2 separate regions of the Homo sapiens genome follow, and region 2 is linked to region 1. The links are contacts of gene promoters, found by promoter capture Hi-C in blood cells and fetal thymus (Javierre and others, 2016). All regions are on one chromosome and are shown on one strand. The core of a region is centred on a gene start or on the middle of the fragment in contact, and the rest is flanking DNA. Distances in the headings are between cores, read along the strand shown. Region 1 holds the start of NRDC (nardilysin convertase). Region 2 has its middle 20 kb from the start of RAB3B.

The links. Contacts are between HindIII fragments. The CHiCAGO score rates a contact against its expected background, and 5 or more counts as called.
Region 2: a contact is called between a fragment that was not itself captured here and the fragment with the promoter of NRDC in region 1, in 1 of 17 cell types (endothelial precursors). The highest score is 6.1, in endothelial precursors.

The regions. Positions count from the first base shown.
Region 1 is chr1:51,876,405-51,881,436 of GRCh38, forward strand. It overlaps NRDC (nardilysin convertase), which reads right to left and starts at 2,323. Exons shown (of 31, transcript NM_001101662.2): 1 at 1,871-2,323. The coding sequence starts at 2,211. RefSeq lists enhancers at 113-644, 2,313-2,607, 2,491-2,670, 3,061-3,614 and silencers at 2,361-2,410, 4,368-4,565. The HindIII fragment of the contact is 5,345 bases long and covers 1,647-5,032 here.
Region 2 is chr1:52,008,096-52,013,127 of GRCh38, forward strand. No RefSeq gene overlaps it. Among named protein-coding and RNA genes, the nearest start is that of RAB3B, 20 kb to the left of the region's middle. The HindIII fragment of the contact is 4,010 bases long and covers 754-4,763 here.

The sequences.
Region 1 (5,032 bases), core at 1,073-3,572:
ATGGTTCATATATACCTTATACACATAACCTGAAGATAATTTTATACAATATTTTTAATAATTTTGTGCATGAAACAAAGTTTGTGTACATGAACCAACCATCAAAAAGCAAAGGTGCCAAGTGTGGAATTTTTCACTTGTGGTGTCATGTTGGCGCTCATAAAGTTTTGGATTTCCGAGCATTCTGGATTTTTGGATTAGGGATACTCAACCTGTACAATCACATCTTTGATGAGAAAGAAAATTTAGCTCATTTATAAAGATCTCTTGACTCTGGCAGCCTGGAGAAAATATATCTAGACTTGAAGTGAAAGGAGAAATTAGGTTGGTCCTGAACTTGGAGCTAAGTGTCATCTGTCAAAGAGGTGTGGTGGGAAGTGGAAAAGATTATCTATAAGGTTGTTTCTTGCGCTAACGCTGTAGGGGCTTATAACAAATTTAGAACTAGAATCCTTCAGCTTTCAATTCACATAAGCAAGAAATTTGTAAAAAATCGGCAAACGGGCTGGGCGGGGTGGCTCACGCCTGTAACCCCAGCACTTTGGGAGAAGAGGCGGGCGGATCACAAGGTCAAGAGATCGAAACCATCCTGGCCAATATGGTGAAACCCCGTCTCCACTAAAAATACAAAAAATTAGCCGGGCGTGGTGGCGAGCACCTGTAGTCCCAGCTACTGGGGAGGCTGAGGCAGGAGAATCGCTTGAACCCGGGAGGCGGAGGTTGCAGTGAGCCAAGATCGCGCCACTGCACTCCAGCCTGGTGACACAGCAAGACTCCGTTTCAAAAAAAAAAAGGAAATCAGCAAATGATACACTGAATTTGGTGTCAGATAGTAGGGGTCATCATACCAGCTCTGTTATTATTTAGCTGTGTGATTCAGAGCAAGAAGCAAACTCTTTGGGTCTCAATTTCCTCAACCTGTTCAACGAAGTTATTGGACAATATGAACTCTATTTAAAATACATCAAAGTCCAGGCCTGGCACAGTGGCTCACGCCTGTAATCCCAGTACTTTGGGAGGCCAAGACAGGAGGATTCCCTAAGCCCAGGAGTTTGAAATTAGCCTGGGCAACATCGCAAGACCCAGACTCTTATTAAAACACACACGCACACACACACACGCAAGATACATCATAGTCATGATACTCCATGAAATAAGCTACCTCTGAAGGAAAATACTCAGGTGGGGACTGAATCACCAATTATTAGAAATGTTTAGAGAACTCCTGTACAAACCAAAAGTAGAGAATTTCAAGGTTAGAAGAAACCTTACAACTCACCCAACTGAGACCTAAGCCCTCTCTAATATATTCCTGGACGAGGTCGCCCAACCGTTTTGGTAATGGAGAACTACCCATGGAAACAAGTCACTTCAACTTAGGCCAAATATGATGCAAAGTTACTTTACTGAAGCCACACCATCCTCTGGTAACTTTCGTCCACTAGTTTCACCTATCACTTAAGTGTCCCTCAAATATTTTGGATAGTGATAATATGCCCCTTAAATATCCTGTCCTCCAAATTAAAGTATCCAACTCCGTCAACCTTTCCTGGTAACATAATACCAAGACTCCCTCACCATTCAGGCTGCGTTCCTCAAAGAAACCTTCATTCTTGCTTTAGCGACTGTATTCAAATGACTCGAAAAGCTTCTCCCATTCTGACGTCTTACAACCCAAGATCTCCCACTTGCCCAGCTGACACCACAGGGAAGCCTCTAATCACGCTTGCCACCTCCACCCAAGGAAGCATTTGGGGTGGAAAGTGTGCCCTGTTGCTCCATTGGGAGACATGGAGACAAGAAGTGACGGCGGCACCGACAGAGAAGCCGGCACACTGTTCGCCTCCCCATTGCAAGCCTCCTCCCTCACCGGTATTGCTTGGGGTCGCTGGGAGACTTGACGATCTCAGGGTCCCCAGCATTACTGAGAGACCCCCTCCGTCCCTCTTCCTCAGATTCATCCGCTCCTAGACGGGCAACCCGGCTGTTCTCGCCCAGATCCTGTCCATTGGGCTGCAGGTCAGGGCAGCTGCAGGTAGACTTCGCCTTGTTCCTTCCAGGCATGGCCAGAATAGGAAAGGGTCTGGCAGCAGCAGAGTCTTCGCACCGACCCCGCGTTTCGATTCCCCAGAGCGCCGCGAGCTCCCGCCCGGCCTCACACAACTTCCTCCGGGTGGCACAGACTGCAGCAACAGTGACTCTCCTCAGCATTCACCACCAAGCTGGAGCGATGGACATCCCGCTTCCCAGGACCCACCTCCTCCGCGTTCTAGAGGCGGTGGCGGCCGGCCCTGGTGCTGCCGCAGCCGCGGGGAACAGGCCTGAACCCCTCCCCCAACCCAGTCTCCCTCTCGCCGACTTCCCTCGTCCCTCCGCCCTCCCGGCCGCCGATGACGCTACTGATTTCAGCCAATCATGAGGCAAGAAAGTAGTCACGCTCACGTAAGCAACCAATCAGAACAGGAAAGGAGAGGCACCAACGTGACCCGGACTGATTCTCGGAACAGCCAGCGAACATTTCGAAACCCAAAGTGGGCGGGGCGAGGGAGAAGAAGCGGAGAGAGTGGCGCGGAGGACGACGGGAGAAGGGCCCCCGGCGCGTTTATGACGTACGAGTGTGTTTTGTGGAAACCACTGAGTAGTGCTCCGCGTGTCAAAGAAAAATATTCCCCTAATGAGAAAACTGAGAAACGAGTGCAGAGAATTAATTCCAAAGTTTTAAATTTTCCCATTCGTGTCATAGTTTGGGTACCCTACTCCTCAGACCCGGGGCGAGCCTTCGGCTGTGACTCAGCACATAAAAAACCAGAACGCCGGAAGTATTTTCCTACACCCGCCGGATGGACGCTGCTCCCGAGCGCCGCAAATACTAATTGGCTCTTCTCTACCCTACAGTCGGCCCGACAGTGGTGGGGTTTCATCCTCAAGCCCTAAGAAAGTGCTAAAAAGACCAGTCTGGATGTGCTAACTCTTCTGTGTGAAAACGTTTTTTAGCTCCTCCAGCCTCCTGTTAAATTCGGCCAATTTTTATCGAGCAGCTGCAGCGTCTGCTGCCTTCAAGTCTCCTTTCCCAGTTTTTCCCGCTAGCAGTGGTCTTTGGTTAGCAATGTAAAATGTGACGGAAATACAAACATAAATGAAAGCTAAAAAGCAGCTGAAATTAGTAAGATGCACTATACTGACACCATGGGGTAAGAGATCATAGCTCATACATACGAATGAGCGGGGAAAGACGTGAAGCAGGGAGATGTGTTGATAGTTACTGTATCTTCAAGGTTTTCGAGGCCTCTTCTGAGTTCCAAATGCAAGGAATACAACCATGAACAAAACAAAACTTGCCTTAGGCTGGGCGTGATAGTGATAGCTCACACCTATAATCCTAGTACTTTGGGAGGCCGAAGCGGGAGGATTGCTTTGAGCCTGGGAATTTGGTACCAGCCTGGACAACATGGTGAGACCCCCGTCTGTACAAAATTCTTTTTTAAAATTAGCCAGGCTTGGTGATGCGTGCATGTGGTCCCAGCTACTCAGGAGGCTGAGGCAGGAGGAACGCTTGAGTCCAGGAGGTCGAGGCTGCAGTGAGCCGTGATTGCAACACTGCACTCCAGCCTGGTTGACACAGTGAGACCCTGTCTAAACAACGACAACAAAAATTTAAAGCCTTGCCTTGGGGGAGCTTGCATCCTAATGGGAAGGAACTGTAAAATATGTAAACTAAAGTAAATCAGGCTTTTAAATAATTCAAGTTAGCTTTCTTCAGAAGTCTTATTGAGGACTGCCACCTGGGAGAGTCAGAGAGTTTTTTTTTTAGACTGCTCCAAAGCAGTGTTTCAGCCCGCAGCTTCTATACAGGTGGTGGCCGCTCTGCATGTGCTTGGAAGTTAAATCAAATGTGCTCAGAAAGGCTGGGCCTGTAATCCCAGTGATTAAGGAGGCTGAGGCAGAAGGATTGCTTGAGGCCAGGCATTTACAACCAGCCTGTGTAACATATCAAGACTCTGTCTCCACACACACATAAAAAAGCAAGGCGTGGTAGAACATCCCTGTAGTCCTAGCTACAGGAGAGGCAGAGTTAAAAGGATTGCTGGGACTCCTGAGTTTGAGGTTACAGTGAACTATGATTGTGCCTCTGCACTCTAGCCTGGTGACAGAGCAAGACCTTGTCTCTAATAAAAAAGAAAAAATGTACTCAGGAGTTACACTAGAGCAAAATCTCATGAAGGTTTAGGTGGAAGAGTACACATGTTTATAGATTATGGAGGCATAGTCATTAATCCTGTCAGAAATGTACAGGAAGAGGCAAGGTCGAGCATCATTGGATTTATCTTTTCTAAAAATGCAGTGATTCAGGCAAGAGACATGGGAACTTGTGCTCTATCCTGCATATTTTCAGGGTATTCTGGAGGGCTGTGCGCAGTCACTGAGGCTGTGAAATTCTGCTGGCAAGAGAGTTTGTGAAATTCTGCTGGTAAACAGAATGAGCAGACATGGCTTCTTATGTTTGCTACTTTGTCTCACATATACAAAAAACAATAAATGCAATGAAGACAAATTGTATAGGATAGGAAGATAAGGAGTTAGGGAGGAAGGGTACAATGATTCAGGTAGAAAATGATGGAACCTGAACTGGAGCAGTAGATGAGGTAAATTGAAAAATACTGTTTAAAATATCCCAGTTTGTTTCCATACATCTTTTCAAGAACTTACCACTTTAAGCAACTCCACTAGACTTCTCTTCTTCAGAGCAGTGGGTTGTTGTTGGTTTTATTTGTTTGTTTGTTTAGAGATGAGTTCTCACTATGTCTATCCAGGCTGGTCTCAAACTCCTGGCCTTAAGCCATCCTCCCACCTCAGCCTCCCAAATCACTGGGATTACTATAGGCATAACTACTGCACCTAGCTCACAGCAGTGGTTTTTAATTAAATTTTTCTAACTAGATACAAAGGTGGGCTGGATCTAATGGCATGTGTCTGTAGTCCCAGCACTTTGGGAGACTGAGGAAGGTGGATCACTTGAACCCAGGAGTTTGAG
Region 2 (5,032 bases), core at 1,509-4,008, 130 kb after region 1:
ACATACCAACATTTTAATTAATTCATTAACAAAGACCAGCAAGAAGACAAACCAATTCAAAGGATACAAAAACTTGCATACATACATATTGTCAGTGACAAAAAGGAATACTAAAGTAAGATTGCTAAATCAGATATAAAACTGGTTAATGACTTACAGTCAATAAAGTCATAACATTTGAGATTATCTTCCCCTTAGGAAAGAAATCATTCACATATAATTAGTGTCCTATAAATTAAAATTCAACTCTATAAAGTTGTAAAATGTCTGGATCGTAATTAACAATAAAAAAAAAAAACTCTTGGTGTCAGGTAACTTTAGACAGGCTTGTTACAAAAATGCTCTACAATTACATTAAAAGTTTTGAACTCCTATGCAAGGTGGTTCACACCTATAATCCCAGCACTTTGGGAGGCCGAAGCTGGTGGGTTGCTTGAGCTCAGGAGTTCAAGACCGTCCTGGGCAACATGATGAAATACTAAAGAAATATATGACAGGCAGGACGTGGTGGCTCACACCTGTAAACTCAGCACTTTGGGAGGCCGAGGCGAGTGGATCATGAGGTCAGGAGTTCAAGACCAGCCTGGCCAACATGGTGAAACCCCATCTCCACAAAAAAAAATACAAAAATTAGCTGGGCTAGTGGCATGCACCTGTAGTCCCAGCTACTTGGGAGGCTGAGGTGGGAGGATAGCATAAGCCTATGAGGTCGATCACAGGCTACAGTGAGCTGTGATCAAGCCACTGCATTCAAGCTTGGGCAAGAGAGTGAGACCCTGTCTCAACAAAACAAAACAAAACAAAACAACAACAACAAAGTTTTGAATGCTTTTTCTTAACAGTAATTACTTCTAGAGATATTAGTGCTGAGAAACAATCTTCACATAAAAAGTACCTGAGAGGCTGGGCGTAGTGGCTCCCACCTATAATCCCAGCACTTTGGGAGGCAAGAGGATTGCTTGAGGCCAAGTGTTCAATACCAGCCTGGGCAATATAGAGACACTGCCTCTATCAAAAAAAAAAGTAGCCAGGTATGGTGGCACATGCCTGTAGTCCTAGCTACTCAGGAGGTTGAGGTGATAGGATTGCTTGAGACCAGGATTCCAGCGTTACAGTGAGCTATGATCAGGTCACTGTGAATCGGCTACGTTTTGTCTGGGGTATATACCCTGGGGTTCACTGTCGTGTGCCAGGAAAATTTAGGACACAGACACAAGGAGTTTAAGAGCAGAGGTTTAAAAGGAAGAAAAGAAAGAGAAACAGCTTCCTCTACAGAGGAAGGAGTCTCCAAGTGGCAAAGACCCAGGGGTGGTGAATACACCAATTTTTTTTTTTTCTTTTTTGAGAGGAATCTCACTCTGTGGCCCAGGCTGGAGTGCAGTGGCTCCATCTCGACCCACTGCGACCTCCAGCTACTGGGTTCAAGCAATTCTCCTGTCTCAGCCTCCCGAGTAGCTGGGACTACAGGTGCCCACCATCACATCCGGCTAATTTTTTTATTTTTAGTAGAGACAGGGTTTCACCATATTGGTAATGCTGGTCTTGAACTTCTGACCTCAGATGATCCACCTGCCTCGGCCTCCCAAAGTGCTGGGATTTCAGGCGTGAGCCACCGAGCCCTGCCAGATGCCCCAAATGTAATAGTTAGATTTGAGGAAGTGGTGTCCGATTTACATAGGCCTCACAGATTGGTTCCATCAGGTATGATGGCAGGGAAGGCTGGTTGCCTAACCCTAATCTTATTATGCAAATAGACTTTCCAGTTGATCCGCGCCATCTTGTCTGCTTCTTACTGTACTGTGGCTGGCAGAAAAGGGGAGATGGAGCCGCCATCTTGAACATGTCTAGTTCCTAGTTCCTGCCAGCGTTCCCCTGTGCAAGCTCCCAGCTTGCTTGTCTGTGTCTGCGGCTGGATTTTACAGGCTGCTCTTTGTTAGAAAATGATTTGGGGCTGCTTTTTATTAAAAAGAAAATCCTGACTGCTTGAACCTGGGAGGCGGAGGTTGCAGTGAGCTGAGGTCGTGCCACTGCACTCCAGCCTGGGTGACAGAGTGAGACTCTGTCTCCAAAAAATAAAAAAGAGGCTGGGAGCGGTGGCTCACGCCTGTAATCCCAACACTTTGGGAGGCCGAGGCAGGCAGATCACAAGGTCAGGAGATCGAGACCATCCTGGCTAAAACAGTAAAACCCCGTCTCTACTAAAAATACAAAAAATTAGCCATGTGTGGTGGACGCCTGTAGTCCCAGCTACACGGGAGGCTGAGGCAGGAGAATGGCGTGAACCCATGAGGCGGAGCTTGCAGTGAGCCGAGATTGCGTCACTGCACTCCAGCCTGGGGGACAGAGCGAGACTCCGTCTCAAAAAAAAAAAAAAAAAAAAAAAAAAAAAGAAAAGAAAAGCCTTACTAAGGACTCCCATTCCCTTACTAGCTGCCTAAGTAATTTATTCTTAACTCCTGTATCAACTGTACTTCAGCCTAGGCAACAAAGTGAGATTCTGTATCTAAAAATAATTATATGGGAATAGAAAGCGTTTCTTCATTGCAATGGCATTAAATTCTTTGAACTCTGAGTTATATGCCCAAAAATCACAGCAATCTAATATCAAAAAAACTTTGAGACAAGGCCTCACTTTGTCTGCCCTGCTGTAGAGCAGTGGCACAATCTCGGCTCACTACAACCTCCACCTCTGGGTTCAAGCGATTCTCAGTCTCCGGAGTAGCTGGGACAACAGGCATGTGCCACCACGCCTGGCTAATATTTGTATTTTTATAAGAGACGGGGTTTCACCATGCTGGTCAGGCTGGTCTCGAACTCCTGTCCTGAAGTGATCCACCCACCTTGGCCTCCCAAAGTGCTGGGATTACAGGTGTGAGCCACCCTGCCCAGCCAAATGGATCAGTTTCTAAATCAGACTTTATTTCAGAAATAATTCATTTTGGAGAAAATTGGAATATGTGTTTTAAAATCAAATGTAAAGCTGGGCATAGTGGTTTATGCTTGTAATCCCAGCACTTCAGGAGGCTGGGGCTGGAGGATTGCCTGAGTCCAGGAGCTCGAGACCAGCCCGGGCATCATGGTGAGAGTACTTGTACTTATTGGCCTTATGTGTCTCTCCAGCCTGACTCCATGCTGTTAGCCTTTCCTCACCTCTTATTCTTCCTATTTATTTATTTATTCTGAGTCTGCTTGCTAGAGAACTCTTATTATTATTGTTAGACCAGGTCTCACTCTGTCAGCCAGGCTAGACTGCAGTGGCACCATCTCAGCTCACTGCAACCTCCGGCTCCTGGGCTCAAGTGATCCTCCCACCTCAGTCCCTTGAGTAGAGGGGACCACAGGTAGCTCCGCCACACCCCACTCTGTTTTGTAGAGACGGGGTTTTGCCGTGTTGCCCAGGCTGGTCTCGAATGCTCGTATTCTTTTTTTCAGCCTCTACCGCTCCACTCCAGCTTCTGCTTTCACAATTCCACCCAAATGGCTCCTCTTAGATAAATCCTCTTAATAGGAGGAGATATAGGATTTGGAAGTGAGAGAGGGAAGTTTGGTTGATAAAATCATTTTTGAAATTTGTCTTTCTAATTTATACTTGCATGGATAATCCTTTATTCAACTCCCCAGGCCTATTGGGTACATGTGCCAATAAATATCCTGATAGGCAGCTGGGCAAACTAATGTATTTTTGTACGTTGTTTTAGAACCCCTAAAGGACCAAAAAAAAAAAAAGAAAAAGAAAAAAAAAGAAATAGATTCTGGTAGTCCTAACAGTGATCTTTCTCTCTCTTGCAGTGTTCCTTATCCAATAAGTAAATAGCACCACCCTCTGCTGTTTTACATGCCAGAAACCTGAGACCTGTCTTTGACTTCTTCTAACCTCTCTCCTTAATCATCAGTTATTGTTTATTTTTTCTCTTAAATATTTTAAAAATTCACCTACTCCAGGCCGGCCACGGTAGTTCACACCTGTAATCCCAGCACTTTGGGAGGCCAAGGCAGGCAGATCACGAGGTCAGGAGATAGAGACCATCCTGGCCAACATGGTAAAACCCTGTCTTTACTAAAATACAAAAAATTAGCCAGGCATGGTGGTGCATGCCTATAGTCCCAGCTACTCGGGAGGCTGAGGCAGGGGAATCACTTGAACCAGGGAGGCAGAGATTGCAGTGAGCTGAGATCATGCCTCCAGCCTGGTGACAGAGTGAGACTCTGTCTTAAAACAAACAAACAAACAAACAAAAAATCAAATATATTGAGGTATAAATTACACACAATAAATATTCACATGTCGGCCAGACGCGGTGGTTCACGCCTGTAATTCCAGCACTTTGGGAGGCAGAGGCGGGTGGATCACCTGAGGTCAGGAGTTCGAGACAAGCCTGGCCAACATGGCGAAACCCCGTCTCTACTAAAAGTACAAAAATTAGCCAGGCGTGGTGGCGCATGCCTGTAATCCCAGCTACTCAGGAGGCTGAGGCAGGAGGATAGCTTGAACCCAGGAGGCAGAGGTTGCAGTGAGCCTAGATGGTGCCACTGCACTCCAGCCTGGGCAACAGAGCAAGACTCAATCTCAAAAAAAAAAAAAAAATTCACATGTCTAGTTTATGATTCAATGTATTTTGACAAATATAAACAACTGTGTAACCACCACAATCAACATTTCCATCACCACAGAATGTTCCTTCTGGTGCCTTTGCAGTCAAACCCTTCTCACCCCCATCCCCAATGCCACGTAACCACTGATCTGCTTTCTCCTGCTATAGTTAAGCTTTGCCTGTTCCAAAACTTTATATAAATATACCATTTTTTTGGCCTGTCTTTTCACTCAATATGCTTCTGAAATTCATCCATGTTGTTGCATGTTATCAGTAGTGTGTTCTTTTTCTTTTCTTTTCTTTTTTTTTTTTTTTCCGAGATGGAGTCTTGCTCTGTCACCCAGGCTGGAGTGCAGTGATGCAATCTCGGCTCACTGCAACCTCTGCCCTCCACCTTCCAGTTCCGGTGATTCTTCTGCCTCAGCCTCCCAAGTAGCTGG